Regions from separate parts of the Homo sapiens genome. Here regions 2 and 3 are each linked to region 1. The links are contacts of gene promoters, found by promoter capture Hi-C in blood cells and fetal thymus (Javierre and others, 2016). All regions are on one chromosome and are shown on one strand. Each heading gives the region's core, a stretch centred on a gene start or on the middle of the fragment in contact. The rest is flanking DNA. Distances are from core to core; before and after follow the strand shown. Region 1 holds the start of ZNF775 (zinc finger protein 775). Region 2 overlaps LOC105375566 (a long non-coding RNA gene). Region 3 holds the start of LOC105375567 (a long non-coding RNA gene).

What was found. Contacts are between HindIII fragments. The CHiCAGO score rates a contact against its expected background, and 5 or more counts as called.
Region 2: a fragment that was not itself captured here is called in contact with the fragment with the promoter of ZNF775 in region 1 in 7 of 17 cell types (activated CD4 T cells, non-activated CD4 T cells, naive CD8 T cells and 4 more); the score reaches 12.7 in activated CD4 T cells.
Region 3: a contact is called between a fragment that was not itself captured here and the fragment with the promoter of ZNF775 in region 1, in 2 of 17 cell types (non-activated CD4 T cells and total CD4 T cells). The highest score is 6.3, in non-activated CD4 T cells.

Annotation. Positions count from the first base shown.
Region 1 is chr7:150,378,068-150,380,767 of GRCh38, reverse strand. It overlaps ZNF775 (zinc finger protein 775), which reads right to left and starts at 1,438. Exons shown (of 3, transcript NM_173680.4): 1 at 1,376-1,438. ZNF775-AS1 (ZNF775 antisense RNA 1) reads left to right here. Exons shown (of 2, transcript NR_183445.1): 2 at 580-923. RefSeq lists enhancers at 220-279, 2,290-2,449 and a silencer at 1,070-1,879. The HindIII fragment of the contact is 8,122 bases long and covers 1-2,700 here.
Region 2 is chr7:150,768,088-150,770,787 of GRCh38, reverse strand. All of the region lies in intron 2 of LOC105375566 (a long non-coding RNA gene), which reads left to right. Among named protein-coding and RNA genes, the nearest start is that of TMEM176B, 31 kb to the left of the region's middle. The HindIII fragment of the contact is 1,187 bases long and covers 673-1,859 here.
Region 3 is chr7:150,876,370-150,879,069 of GRCh38, reverse strand. LOC105375567 (a long non-coding RNA gene) reads left to right here and starts at 1,940. Exons shown (of 5, transcript XR_928171.3): 1 at 1,940-2,061. The HindIII fragment of the contact is 2,523 bases long and covers 166-2,688 here.

The sequences.
Region 1 (2,700 bases), core at 189-2,688:
GAAACTAAAGGTAACATCTTAGCATATGTCCTTGAGTTGTTTTTCAGAAACCCAGACCCCCACCAAATGGACTTGCTGGCACGCACACCTCGGATAAGAGGGAACTGAGAACTCAACTCTGCTCATCTTTCCCCATTGCACCCCGACACGCCCCATCCTCTCGTGGCTCTTGAACTCACCGTGTCCTCGCACCCTGTGACCAACCTTGGAAGGCCCTTGCTCAGTTCTCCCCTTCCCAGCCCAGATTAGGGATCGCTTTGACCAGGAAGCCTTTTTGGACACACCAGGCACAGCCAGGAATCCCTTCTCTGTTTAACCTGTGCACCTAGGACCATCTACATGGAATCATCATTGTCATCAATTTGTTAGTCTGCACAAGACTACATGCATCTTAACACAGGGTCCTTCTCTCTCCCCTGCACCCAGTACAGGCTCCACACACAGTAATCCATTAATAAAAACTGTCATAAGGGAACACTTAAATAAAAGAAATTTCAGTACAAAACAGATTTGAAGCACGGAAGCATGAACCTTCAAGCTGAAAGGAGACAACTGCCATCTAATCTCTTCATTTTACAGATGAACATGGGAACAGTTAGCTGTGAAGCCTTGGGCTGTCGTCCGCCTCCAACCCCTGGGGCTCTGACCACACCCAGCCCCAGCTCAGATCATCTTGCTCAAAGGGCCGAAGGAGGACCCATCTCCACACCTTCCACATGTAGATATCCTCAACGTTCTTCACAGAGGGGATGCCCGCACCCCGCCCCACCGAGTTCGCGGCTGCTGTGCCCATCTTCCTAGAGAGGAGTTCTCCGCCACACCCGACACCACACACTTCCAACTTCTGCGGTGCTTCCCTCTCACTTATCTCCACCCCCAATCCTTATCCCCGCTCGTTTAATCACACATTTATTGGTCACCTACTATGTGTCTGTCACTCTGCAGCGAGCATTGGGGTTCCTGCCCCCAGAAACTGATCTATCAGGGAGGCGAACAGGGACGGGGAACTCGGAACAACGGGACAGCCCAGGAGAGACCGCCCGCGGGCGACCCCTCTACTCGCCACCGCGTCCTCCCTCCATTCTCACTAGCCTCCCTCCTAACCTCGCTGCCCTGGCCTGGCGCCCTCCCCACCCTCGGCCGCGCCCCTTTCCCCTCGGCTGTGTCGGGGCAGAGGGAACGCTTGAGACCCGGGGCTCGGGGGGCGCGCGGGGCTCGGGGCACCCCAGGCCCCCGCCCCATCCCTCCGCCCCAGCCCGGGCCGGGCGGAGGCAGCACGGGAGGAGCGGGGCCGGGCGCTGGTCCATCCCTCGCACCGCCCCTCCCCGCCCAAAATGCAGAGGGACTCGGAGGGAGGCGACGGGGAAATAAATACCTTTGACTTTGTGGCTAAGGTTAACGGGAACTGCCACCCCGAGGGCGACTTGGGCACCGGGCTCCCGGCCCTGGCCATTCCCGGGGCAGGCGGGGCGGGCACGGGTGCCTGATTGGCTGGCGGGCCTGGCCATCCCCGGGGCCGCCCAGCCACTCCATTGGCTGCGCCGCTCAGATGACCCGCCCGGCCCTATCGGAGCAGCCCGCGGGGCGGCTCCTTTGTTCTCTGGAGCCAATAGCCGAGGGGGGAGGGCTGACCTCGCCCCCGGCGGGCGCGCAAGGCCCGGGCGCCGTGAGCGCGCTAGCCGCCGGCCGCGGGGAGGAGACCTTGGGAGGTCGGGCCCCAGATGGCCGGCGGCGTCCTGGCACCCCTGCCAGGCCTGGACTCCGCGTGCGACCCCGTTGTAACGCCTGAACTCAGCGCACGTTCGCCGAGCGCCACAGCGCGCCGGACGCTGTTTCTCCCTGCTGGGGACCCATCAGGGCCCGGACAGAAACCCCGGCTGAGGCTGTGGCTGCCCTCAAGCCGCGATAGCCCCACCGTGGGGTGTGATAACTTTTAGGGTTCACTACGAGGGACCTTAGAAATCATTATACCCGACCCCTTCGTTTTCTGTTTCAGGGAGGTGGTCTCGCTCAGACCCCAGTGGCGCGATCATGGCTCAGTGCAACCTCGAACCCGTGGCTCAACCGAACCTCCCAACCTGCTAACTTTTTAAATATTTTGTAGAGATGGGGGTCTCGCCATGTTGCCCAGGCTGGTCTCGAACTCTTGAGCTTAAGTGACCCTGCGGCCTCGGCCTCCCAAAGTGCTGGGATTACAAACCCGCGCCCGGCCTAATCCCTTTGTTTTCTAGCTGAGGAACGGCTCTGAGGTTACGTTACTAGGTCGGGTTACTAGGTAGGGTTCCCGTGAGCGGAATCATCTCCGCCCAGTTGCCACCCCGGTCCAGACTGCCAGACCTTCAGGAAGGAGTATCTTCGCAACTCCCCACCCCATTGTAAGGAAATTCCTCACACTTCTCCCTCAAAGGGGGCGCAGCTGGGTCAACTCCCACTGGCAGGATGCTCTCCGGAGCTGCTAGAAGCTGCCTCTGGGGCATGAGGTAGATACAGACAGAAGCTGGGCCTCTGAGACTCTACAAACGGTTGCTGTTGGGCAGGCGGACCTTATTTTCTTCAGTCAACAGCTGATTAAACATTTGCCACAGGCCCGGCTGCGGTTTAGCCTCAGTAGCACAGCAGGAACTGGGGACTGAGATTCGATTTTGTCACTAACTTCATGTGTACTTTTTATAAAAGATACTTTTCTGTTTCTGGACTTTG
Region 2 (2,700 bases), core at 17-2,516, 390 kb before region 1:
GTCAGCTAATTTTTGTGTTTTTAGTATAGATGGGGTTTCACCATGTTGGTCAGGATGGTCTCGATCTCTTGACTTCGTGATCCACCTGTCTCAGCCTCCCAAAGTGTTGGGATTACAGTGTGAGTCACTGTGCCCGGCCTCTTGGATTTTTATGTAGTGTGAGGTAGCAGCCCAGCTTTACTTTCTTCTAATTGGAAAGCTGTTTTTTCCTCACCACTTAACTAAATAACCAATTTTCCTCTGCTTTTTCATACATTTATTCCCATTATTAACTAGGATTCATTATGTACTATGTATATTGTCCTACTGATTTATTTGTGTGTTTTATGCCGATGCCAGACTAACTTATGTTCAGGCATTTTTTTTCCGCACAAGGGAGCCTGAAGAAAGCATATCTAATTCCACACACAAAAACAACAGATTTCAATTGGAATTTAATTATGTATATATCCATTTTGGAAGAATGTATATCTTCATAGTGGTAAGTATTTTCATACCAGAACATGGTCTGTTTTTCTGTTTGTTCAGGTCTTGTTTCATGTTTTTCAATATGGTTGAGCTATATTTATAGTTAAGTATATCATGAATATATATATATAAGAGTATATGTACAGCATAAAGCTCAATAAAGCCATACCCAGTTTAAGGAGTAGAGCATTGCCCTTCGAAGCTTCCCATCCCACCTCCATGAGTTCCTCTCCCTGTCGCTAGGGTATTATTACTATCCTCTCTTTTGTGTTAATCATTCACTTTCTTTCTTTTTCTTTTTTTTGAGATAGGGTGTTGCTCCATTGCCTAGGCTGGAGTGCAGTGGTGCAATCATAGCTCACTGCAGCCTTGACCTCCTGGGCTCAAACGATCCTCCCACTTTGGACTTTTGTGTAGCAAGATCACCTTGTGCACCACCTCACCTGGCCAATTTTTTTTTTTTTTTTGTAGAGATAGGGCCTCACTGTTTTGCCCAGGCTGGTCTCGAACTCCTGTCCTCAGGAATCCTTCTGCTCTGGCCTCCCAAAGAGTTTGGATTACAGGCGTGAGTCACCGCGCCCAGCCTTTCCTTGCTTTTCTTTATAGTTTTGTATCACCTATGTCTGTTGCTCTAAACAATATATATTTTTAGTTTTTTTCCACGACTAACCTTGTCAAAAATGGAATCAGATTCTGTATTCTTCTGGGAAAAGAACGGTTCTTCTTTGATTAAACATTATGTATATGATATTTATTCATGTTGATGTAGGTAATTGTGTTTTGTTCATTTTTCCTGCTGAATATCATTCCACTGTGTGGATATTCTATAATTTGCTTATCCAATGCAGTATTGATGAATATTTGGGTTGTTTGTAGCTTTTTACTATCATGAGTCTTCTTACAAAATATCCTTATGCATTCATGTAAGTTTTTCTTTAAGGCAATGGTCTTCAAACTTTTTTACTTCTGTATTCACTAAAGGGATTTTTAAAAATTTAGGTCTTCTCTTGATTTTAAGCTGAACTTCTAAAATTTTTTCATCATGAATATTTGCAAAGGATGTAATTTCTAGCACATTGTAGATATTAACATTTTTAAATGAAATTACTTCAGTGCAAAAATTGAGAAGCCTTGTTCATATAAACGAATCAATAGAAATATAATCAATTCTGTTATGCTAATGCCACTCAATTCTTTGTACTCCTTCCAAAATAAATGCCAAAACCGCATAGTGGTTTCTCATTAATTTTTAATTTCTATTGATGGATATATCTGTCTTCCTTTTTGTTGAAAACAAAATAGTGGAGACTGCTTGACTTGCAGAAGGATTTAATGGCCAGTCATTAGAATCACTTGATTTCTCAATGTCTGGGAAGTATACCAAAAAAGCTTTATCAAGACATACCAAATGACTATAAATTGTATGTCTTACTCTTTCACTGAAAGGTTGAAAAGTATCCCATTTAACCCATTATATCTAAAATATTTGGAAAAATTGAAATATTATGAACTTTGATAAACCTCTGTCAATCTATTTAAAAAAACTTTTTAAGTGGAAAATTCTAAATACATAGAAGTAGAAAAAATAGCGTACTGAACTCAACGTATCTATCATTAGGCATCAACAGTTATACATGGGCAATCTTGTTTCATCTAAACCCCTATCCTTTCCACTCCTAGTTTTTATTATTGTTTTTATTTTTTGAAATAGGGTCTCACTCTGTTACCCAGGTTACGATGCAGTGGCATGATCACAGCTCACTGCGGCCTTGACCCCCGGGCTCAATGGATCCTCCTACTTCAGCCTCCTGAGTAGCTGGGACTACTGGTGCATGCTACTATCTTCCGCTAATGTTTTAAAAAATATTTTGTAGAGATAGGTCTGTGTTGCCCAGGCTGGTATTAACTCCCAGGCTCAAGCCATCCTCCTGCCTTGGCCTCCCAAAATGTGGAGATTAAAGGTGTGAGCCACCATACTCGGCCCCTTTTGACGTTTCTGACAAACTTCCCAAGATTAATTTCTAAATTAAGCCTTTTTTATTGATCTTGAACTAACTTTGGGACTTTTGAGATGGGCTCCTGGAAAATGTGAAAGAATTTCTCTCTCACCTTGTAAAAGAGGGACATTAAACTAATTGGCTTATTTGATATGTTAAATTATGTGGGAAGCACTGTCAAGTAAAAGTGACGTTTAGCTTTCTTTATATTTATATGGGCACATGTTACTAATAA
Region 3 (2,700 bases), core at 178-2,677, 500 kb before region 1:
AAGCAATACTTTTCTTGGCTCTTCTTTATAATAATTTATTGTCTAGTGAGCTACTAACCCTTTTTCTTTATGACTTGATTGCCCCCGTATGCTAAAATACTTGCTGTTTTACTTTTCCTTTCATTGACATTTACAATCCTTTGTCTTTTAGTAGTTTCACAAGCTTTGAAACAATGTTTAGATAATTTTAAAAAATAAAAATAAAACAATGCTAAGGGTACAATCATTGATGTTTTAAATATATCAGCTGCTATAAGGCACTTTGTCCAATTTTCATAATAATTTTGTCTTAATGGTGTTAAGAGCAAAGATTTAAGATTTACTTTCTTAGTGCCATAAAAATAAGAGCTATTCAGCTGGGTTTCTGAAATATTAAGTGCAATGCAAAAGTTTGTTTGCCTAATATCCCTGGACACCAGGCTTCCCAAAATATCCTGCCCCAGACCATAGCCACATCTTCCCACTAGATTCCTGGGCAACTAGAAACAATGGTAAAGGAAAACAAGGTCACACAATTTTTTTTGAGATGGAGTCTTGCTCTGTCACCCAGGCTGGACTGCAGTGGCGCGATGTCGGCTCACTGCAAGCTCAGCCTCCCTGATTCACACCATTCTCCTGCCTCAGCCTCATGAGTTGCTGGGACTACAGGCGCCCGCCACCACGCCCAGCTAATTTTCTTTTCTATTTTTCGTGGAGATGGGGTTTCACCATGTTAGCCAGGATGGTCTTGATCTCCGACCTCGTGATCCACCCGCCTCGGCCTCCCAAAGTGCTGGGATAACAGGCGTGAGACACTGTGCTCGGCTAAGGTCACACTAATTGTTAGCTGGGAGTGGACCCCAAACCTGTTGAAAGAACCCATCAGCTTTCCTTTAAGAAGGTAATGCCACAGACCACAACAGATAATTGAGGGTTATTCTGTGAGCTTCCACTAAAGCTAAAACATGTGTGGAAGGGACAGAAGAGAGGATAACAGGTTTGCTGGCCTGTTTACCACTTGGGGACGTTTGGATGGATGATGAAGAAGAAAAAGAATCAAAAGGACTGGGGCTCATCACAGGTGGGAATAGTATAATATTAGCTCTTCATTCAGAACCATGGTAGCAAAAAGAGAGAAAACTGCATCTGTGGACTGAATTATTCCCCTCAGCCCTCTACCCCAGTGTGTCTTCTTTTTGGGAATAGAGTAGAAAGCCAGGAAAATGGTGGGGATCTAGGAGGAAGCAGGCATCTCCTCTGACTTGCACGTCCCCCTGTTTCACTGTCCTTTGTTAACTCACTGTGTTTGACAGCCACATCTGTGGTCAGCCAGGGGTGCAGCTGCTCCTACTGGTAGCTAATGGCCATAGAACACCAGGGGCGTCTTAAAGCCCCTTCTGTGATCCGCACCACTGCTCCTGGGTATACTCCCAGGGTCTGTTATATGGGTAACATGCACCTCGCAGCAAGATCTCCTGAAATGGGTTAGGACAGGAATATTAGGTAATTGCAAACCCATACTTCCCACCATTCTTGTCTTCAATTATGGCCAATTACATAGTTACGGCAGCCTTGTATTGTTACAATACAATCTTCCTCTATGCTTAGGAACCTCTATGGAGATGGTTGTGTTACTTCAACCAAAGACAAGAAGAGACTAATCTGCAGAATTAGAACAATTCCCTAGTTCTTCAACAAATCAGTGCTGCTTTTCTTGCCAATAATAGACGTGTTTGTATTTCTCCGTGGAAACCCTTGGGGTAAACATGTTGCTTGTTCTTCCAATAAAGAATTGAACCACCAGAGGGCCTCAGGCGACTCAGGAGGTTTGGGAAGAGACAAAGGCACATGCTTAGAGGGTCTGGAGAAGGCGAGGAAGAAGGAAGGGAGCCAAGTAAAACATGTGACTGACCAGGGGCTTTGGAGAAGACAAGCCCTGCAGGAAGGCACGCATGTGGTCATTCTGTCTGTAGCCTCCCATTCCTCCCTGCTTTCCCCAGCTGCATCTACCTGGATCCTGAATTTGAACCAAGTGGTCCAAACGGCCCGGTCACCTGAGCAACCCCTCTGCAGGAACCGCAGGTGTGGGCGGGGTGGTGGGGAGGAGGCGGGGGGGTGGGGGAAAGGCGGGGGGTGGGGGGAGCTCAGCGGCGCCATCTAGCGTCCAGACAGCGGTGGCTCTGGGAAAGCTGATTGTTTTCTTAGCCAGAGGAGGAAGAGAAGGTTGGTCCTCAGCGCCTGGACGCCTGGTAGACGATAGGGGATGACATGATGAGTAAAATAAGGACAGGAACACGCCGAATCCCCTTTCATAATGATAGGACCACGCCAAATCCCCTTTCTTTTTAAAATTTGACATATACCCTTGAATATATATGTATTCTTATAAAATATGGTTATCTGGTATGTATTTATGTATATTGATATAAAGCTGCAGATTTAAAAATAGTACTTCTTTCATCTCTCTCCATCTACATAGTCTTCGTGGTTTTCAGTAAAATGATAATTTCTGGATTACTTAGATGTAGTTATTATGATCCAACCCTTGAATAAGGGGAGTTGAGAGTTGGTGAAACATCCCTGTCTCAATATTTGTTCATGCCATATTTCCTTTGAAAGAATTTACAGATAAAGGCATCAAATACCTGAAAAAGTAACAAGTTTACTATATTTTACTTGAGAATTTGTATATATATTTTTAAGAAAGCTTTTTAGTTTTGG